Linked DNA regions of Homo sapiens: region 1 is linked to region 2. Evidence: promoter capture Hi-C in human tissues and cell types (Jung and others, 2019). All regions are on one chromosome and are shown on one strand. Each heading gives the region's core, a stretch centred on a gene start or on the middle of the fragment in contact. The rest is flanking DNA. Distances are from core to core; before and after follow the strand shown. Region 1 overlaps WFDC9 (WAP four-disulfide core domain 9). Region 2 holds the start of WFDC6 (WAP four-disulfide core domain 6).

What was found. The method cuts DNA at HindIII sites, captures the fragments that hold promoters and counts their contacts. A contact is called where the count stands out against the background at its distance.
Region 1: a fragment that was not itself captured here is called in contact with the fragment with the promoter of WFDC6 in region 2 in 2 of the 25 tissues and cell types used here (dorsolateral prefrontal cortex and spleen).

The regions. Positions count from the first base shown.
Region 1 is chr20:45,607,875-45,611,181 of GRCh38, forward strand. WFDC9 (WAP four-disulfide core domain 9) reads right to left here. Exons shown (of 5, transcript NM_147198.4): 3 at 2,217-2,365; 4 at 789-936; 5 at 65-266. The coding sequence starts at 2,307. The coding sequence ends at 236. Among named protein-coding and RNA genes, the nearest start is that of WFDC10A, 20 kb to the right of the region's middle. The HindIII fragment of the contact is 3,512 bases long and covers 1-3,307 here.
Region 2 is chr20:45,537,800-45,540,793 of GRCh38, forward strand. WFDC6 (WAP four-disulfide core domain 6) reads right to left here and starts at 1,683. Exons shown (of 3, transcript NM_080827.2): 1 at 1,518-1,683; 2 at 165-295. The coding sequence starts at 1,608. It overlaps EPPIN-WFDC6 (EPPIN-WFDC6 readthrough), which reads right to left. Exons shown (of 5, transcript NM_001198986.2): 4 at 165-295. EPPIN (epididymal peptidase inhibitor) reads right to left here. Exons shown (of 4, transcript NM_020398.4): 4 at 2,827-2,994. It overlaps LOC107987282 (a long non-coding RNA gene), which reads left to right. Exons shown (of 4, transcript XR_001754641.3): 3 at 737-880; 4 at 2,276-2,588. It also overlaps the pseudogene HSPD1P21. The HindIII fragment of the contact is 28,992 bases long and covers 1-2,994 here.

The DNA.
Region 1 (3,307 bases), core at 385-2,884, 70 kb after region 2:
CTGAGGATTGCAATGAGAGAAATTAAGTCATAGGGAGGAAGTTAAAAAAAAATATGCAGAGCCCTCAGGTTGATGTAGCAGTTTATTTGACAAAAGCTTCAGGGTAAAGAGGTCAAGGAAATAGCAGAAAGGTTACCAGCTAGAGCCAGTGGGTGTCCCAAGAAGGAAGTAGGCAGCACTCTTCTTAGACCAGATGGTCATCCTTCAGCCCACAGTAGTGATCGGCCAATAGAATCTAGGGGTTTAGCATTGATTTAAGGGGCTCTCTAGAAGAGAAAAGTTAGTCAAAAGTCAAGAATCCTGGGATAAATCCATTTCTAAAATTAATAGCATCCTAGGCCCCAGATGAAAAAGGACAGCAATTCTTCTGCTAAATCAGAAGTTACCCACTTTTAAGCAATTTCCCCCAAGAAGTTTGCCAACTGAACAGACAGATAGATACCAGGTCTCCTTGGGCCTGGCTGAGAGTAGAGCGCCCATGGAGACGCCCAACTAAGGGGTTAGTAATTGGAACTTTGGATAAAGGAGGGATGTATGAACTGTTGGGTGATATGTTGAGGGAAGCAAAGGGAACTGAATAAGAGTGAAGAAAAAAGTAGAGGACCTCATGTTGGTGTCTTGGTTTATTTTGCAGTGAGGAGCAGCCTAGGTTTGGAGATAGGAGGACATTGTCTTTTGCTGCCTATTTCTTTAACCAGGATTTGGGTGGCTGCGGTCTTTTGAATAGTCGGTAAGGACCAGTGATGAAGCATGCCCAGGCCCTAGCCTTCCCACCCCAACCAACTCACTCGTTGTCTAAGCAGATGTTTCCACAGTAGGTCCAGCAGCATGTATGATTTGGACGTACACAAGTCATTATTTTAGTACACCTTTTCTCACAGTACTTATATGGAGGCTGTACCCAGCACTGCTCAGTTTCTCTTATCATATCTAGAACTGAGATGGAAGAAGTTAGCAGGGTCCGTCTATTCACAACTCAGACAAGAAACCTTTTCTAAGCTTAACAATCCCTTCTGAAACTTGAGCTCCAAGCCACAAAGTATTTCTCTGCCTTCCAAGAAAATCCCTTCCTCAAATTATAACCAGTGTCTTGTCACAAGACCATCCTTGCATGGCCTGTGTTCCTCCATCTACATGTCCCTACAGCATTTCAGACTCTAAAGATAGGACCTGGGACACCCTGACCATATATGACACCAACCACCAAATTTATTCTCATGTAACCTTAGATTTCAGGGCCTGCAATATCCTCTAACTCCAATTTCCAAAGCCAATTTGCAGAGTGGGAAACTGAGCCAAGGGAGAATAGAAACTTACTTTTTTTCCCCTTCTCTTTTTTTTTTTTTTGAGACAGAGTCTTGCCCTGTCGCCCAGGCTGGAGTGCAACGGCATGATCTCAGCTCACTGCAACCTCCACTTCCCGGGTTCAAGCGATTCTCCTGCCTCAGCCTCCTGAGTAGCTGGGATTACAGGAGCACACCACCATGCCTGGCTAATTTTTTGTATCTTAATAGAGACGGGGTTTCACCATGTTGGTTGGGCAGTCTCGAACCCCTGACCTCGTGATCCGCCCACCTCAGCCTCCCAAAGTGCTGGGATTACAGGTGTGAGACGCCGTGCCCAGCCATTTTTCTCCCCTTCTATTTGTTTCCCTGATGATGCCACCTAAGAAGTCAGTCTCTCCATAAATTTTATTTCCCTGGCCCACAACCCTCCTGCTCAGTGTCTTTGTTGTCCACATTTTCTTATCATATGAACCCAAACTTTGACCCACTAAGGAGCCTTTATTTGTCTTTTCCATTTTTCATGTTCTAAAAGACTCTTCCCCTCCAACTAAATTAACGTGTTAAATATTACCCTTTTGGCATTCATCAAAGGCTCACCCAACTGAGGCACAAAGGTTCTGAAAATATGGGCTTGGAGGGAAGCTCTGTGTTGGTTTTTCCTCTACTGGTCTGATATTGGAAAATATTATTTCCTGCTAGCTGATGGAATATAGACAAAAGATACGTTCCCTTTTCACATACCTAGTGTTGCTTTCAGAGCTGAAAGAGAAAACTTAAAGGAATTGGGAATATCTAACCTAATCTTGCTTGAATATCTCTACTTAAGGAGAGATCCTTTAAAGCCTGATTCTTGACATGCAGGCCCTGGATCAGCTACAATAGACATCCCAGGACTGGGCAGAGCACCCCGTCCCTTTTCACACCACCCACAGGGATCTTTGTTCCAGAAGCTTCCCAGCACAGGCAGAAGCATCACAACTCCAGAGATGAACATGACGAGTAGAAGAATCCAGGGCTTCATGGTGCTCTCTGTGTGTATTTGGGTTAAGTTCTGGCAGAAGGCAAGTCTTTTCCCAATACTGCTAGACGTAGAAAATGGATTGAGGAGAACAGGGTAAGCAACAGGGGTAAAGTGCTTATGACTATCATGTTATTCTTTCCCTTTCTAGTACCCAGTAGCATACCAACCAACTCCCAGGCTAGCCAGTGACTTCCCCAGGTTTCTTCTCATCTCATATTACATACCCCTTCCTTTGCAAAATTATTTCTTATTAAAATGAATTTCTCCTGTCTGATTAAAAACAATAAATCCTCAGATTATATAATATGTAAAATTAAAAATACAAAGAGGAAATAAACAAGCATTAGCAATTCCACCATCTAGAGATAATCAATATATGTCTATACTTTTATGTTGTAGTCATTATTTTTATGAAATTGGACACATCAAGTGTCCTGATATTTTATTTTGAAGCATATGAAACATGATGATGTAAAGAAGTTTTAGTGAAGATCCTAAGACAAAAGGCACTAAAGCAATTTAAGAGGGAATTACAGATAGATAACAGGACTTGAGAAAAGATGATGGCCAAGAACTGTTAGGGGACTCAAAACTTTAATGCACTAAGATGGTCCAAAGTTGGAGGAATTGTAGAGAAGATTTTGAAGGAAATTTTATTGGTAAAAAGCTTTGCTCGTGAAAGCCGGAATGCTGCCTCCTAATTCCAAGTTGAGAGAAAAGGTTTTATGAATACGACTCATTGAGCTTGCTATGTGATCCTAGAAGTCTATGGGAACACAGTAGACTTGAATCATGACTGAAGACTTTAAAGGGTGACTTTAAATCTGGCCAAAGCGGCCTGTAGTAGCAGAGAAGAGGGCTCTAATTTGTGAAGTATCTGAACTGCAAATGGCCAGACGACATTTCATGTTTCCAATGAACCCTTGAAATCTCCCACGAAAGAGTCAAGACCAGAAGCACAGAACCAGCTCATGATAGTATCTATTACACAAGAACTTTC
Region 2 (2,994 bases), core at 433-2,932:
CCATGTCTCCCAAGTCCAGGACTGGCAGATTTGTGTCAAGTAGAAGATGTACCTAAACTCTTGGTCAGAGACCAGCCATCAGTGAACTAGGAGACAGAGGTAGTGCAGTGCAGGTGGAGATAGGAGGTGAGGGCACTGGGTAATTTAGGAAGCATCTGAGTTACCTTTCTGAAGTCTAAACATTTCTTTCCACGGCTGAACGGGCAACACTTCATGTTTTCTGGGCAATCTCTGGGTTTGGTACACTGGTCTATTTCTTCCACTTCGCATTCCACTTTGATTTTGGGACACGGCTCTAAGGGAGGGGAAGATATATTCCCTCAAGGCCTTAAAGGAGCCAGTGCTCCCCCTCCCCGAGACCAGGGCACCCCTCCAGAGTTAGAGAACTTTGTTTCCACTTCACCTATCCCCAGAAGGTAGTGGCCCTCAGGGGGCTCAGGAATTTCACAACACTGCTCACATCCCCAACCCCATAACAACTCACCATCGGATGCCTAAACCAACCCCTACCCCCTACCCGCACCATCTATGAGATTCCTGAGAGAAAGACGCATTCCTCTAAGACTGTTCTGGTCACTCAGCCTTGCTGTGCTTGGTTGCTCCCCCAGGAGGTGCTGTGGCTCTCGATGATTGAGATTAACATTTCTGGCATCAGATAGCTGGGCTTTTGAATTCTGTGAGACGCTTGGTGTGCCAGGCACTCTCTCTGAGCCTTGATTTCCTCATTTGCCCATAGGGTTGCTTTGAAGACTAACCAGCAACACAGTTTGACAAGCCATCGTCAAACTGCCTGGGGCAATGTAACGTAACAATGAGTAATATGGATGAAGCACTTACTGTGAGCTGCCTTTTCTCCTTAATCCTCATTACAAATCTATGGGTAAGTACTCTTAATATTCACATTTTGTAAACAGAAGAATTGGAAGCATAAGGAGATTATGTGAATTTGCCCAAGATCACACAGCTACTCAGGGGTGGAGCCAGGTTTGAACCTACAATGTGTGGCTCCTGAGTGCTCACTTTCAACCACTAATTTTCAGTGCCCAGTACAGTTAGCTGCTAATTGTGAGTCTTCACATTTCAGCATTCCAAGGGACTTCTGGAGACCATTCTTTAACCCAAAGACCAGGGTCCTCTGTGGGTATGGGTGTGGGGGCTGCAATGAGAACATTTGGAAGTTGACACAGGTGGTGTTGTGGGGAGCAGCCTGTTTTTCTTGTGGGAGACTTCCTTGGGCTTACTACTCCTTCTTAGTTCATTTCATGAGCTCTAGGTCCAGGCACCTCCAGGAAGAACTCTTTGGAATGGCAGCAAGGAGTCACTTGCCACAGATTTGGATGCCTGTATTCACCAAGGGAGTCTCTTACCAAGAGACTTCAAATAGCTCCCCTCTTTCCCACCTGGAATTCCAGGCAGAGGTGGAGAAAATAATTTCTCAGCTGCAAAATTATTCTTTGTTCCTTCCTCCCCACTGAGTTTCCTTTCCCCATTGCAAGGACGGAGTTCCCAATACTTACTGCCAAGGATGCCTTCAGCGTGCCCAGGTTCCTGGATGTCCCCCAAAAGGATGAATGGTACCAGGATTGGCAGAAGTCCTGAGAGTCCCATTTTAGGAAGTACTGGCCTGGTTGATGGCACCAAAACTAAGAACTGCTCCTCAGCAGCTCCTACATCTGCACTTTGCCTGCCCCGGTGTGGCCCAGCACCTTAAGAGACAGCCCTGGAGACAAGCCAGCCAGACTCCCCGATCAGGAACACCAGATCCCTGAGGCCATCAGTGGGACTACCTGGTACCTACACTGGGGGATAGGTGGCTCCTAATCCTCAGCAATCTGAGGCTTTCTGGTCTACCAGGGAAAGAGGGCACATGTTGTCTTGGGCTTTCCAGGCTCCCTTAGCAGAAGGGGAGGTTTAACTCCAGAGTCTTCCATTTCCCAGGGGGAGTTTGCAGGTTAACAGTATGCTAGCTCTCTTCCTTCTTTCTAATTTCACTCTTCTCCTGACATGTCTATTCTTATGTTTTATTTTTCTCACTCTGTTTCTTCTCTTTTCTGTGCATCTGTATGTCTTTTACTCTGTGCCTGTCTTTTTCTCAGGGAGTCTCTGTCTGTCTGAGTCTCTTTCTCCCCGCCCTTCACTTCCCTCTCTCTTCTTTCGTATGTAAAGATCAGTTACATTTATCCTTTAAGTCGTTTGATTTTGCAACAGTAAATAACTTCTTTCATTACTTTGGGACTTCTCCAACTCTGTTCTCCGTTTTTCCCTGTTGTCACAGCTACAGCATTGGATTAAAAGTCACACCCTGAAGCATTAACGCTTGAGCATCTGTACCAAGTTTTATATCCTTGGTATAAGCCCGAAGGAGGTGAGGAGCCAGTTACCTGGGCATCAGTTCCATCTGGCAAAGGACTGTGGGTAATGGAAGCATTTCTGCAGGGTGGCAGCAGGGTGTGTGTGCAGCAAGGCATGTCATCAGTGGTGAGTGAGAAGTTCATTCCTTTTTATGGCCGAATAATAGCCAATGCACATTGACAGCCTCCTACCTCTAGCATCAGTCCCTAATTTTCTGCTGTGGGTTTTCTCTGGCCCCCAGGGAGCTTGTATAGCTTGCAAGTATAACAGTTTGAAAGAGCGAGGGATTTAGTATCCCTGGCATCCAGTGGGCGTTGGGAATCAGTGGACAAATAGCTTAGCTTTCCCATCACTGGAGACAGATTAAGAAAATTTGTGGTCTGATATCCAGAATCTACAAGGAACTTAAACAAATTTACAAGAAAAAAAACAAACAACCCCATTGAAAAGTGGGCAAAGGACATGAACAGACACTTCTCAAAAGAAGACATTTATGCGGCCAACAAACATATGAAAAAAAGCTCAACACCAGTGATCATCAGAGAAATGCAAATCAAAACCACAATGAGATACCATCTCATGCCAGTCAGAATGGTGATTATTAAAAAGTCCAGAAACAACAGATGCTGGTAAAGCTGTGGA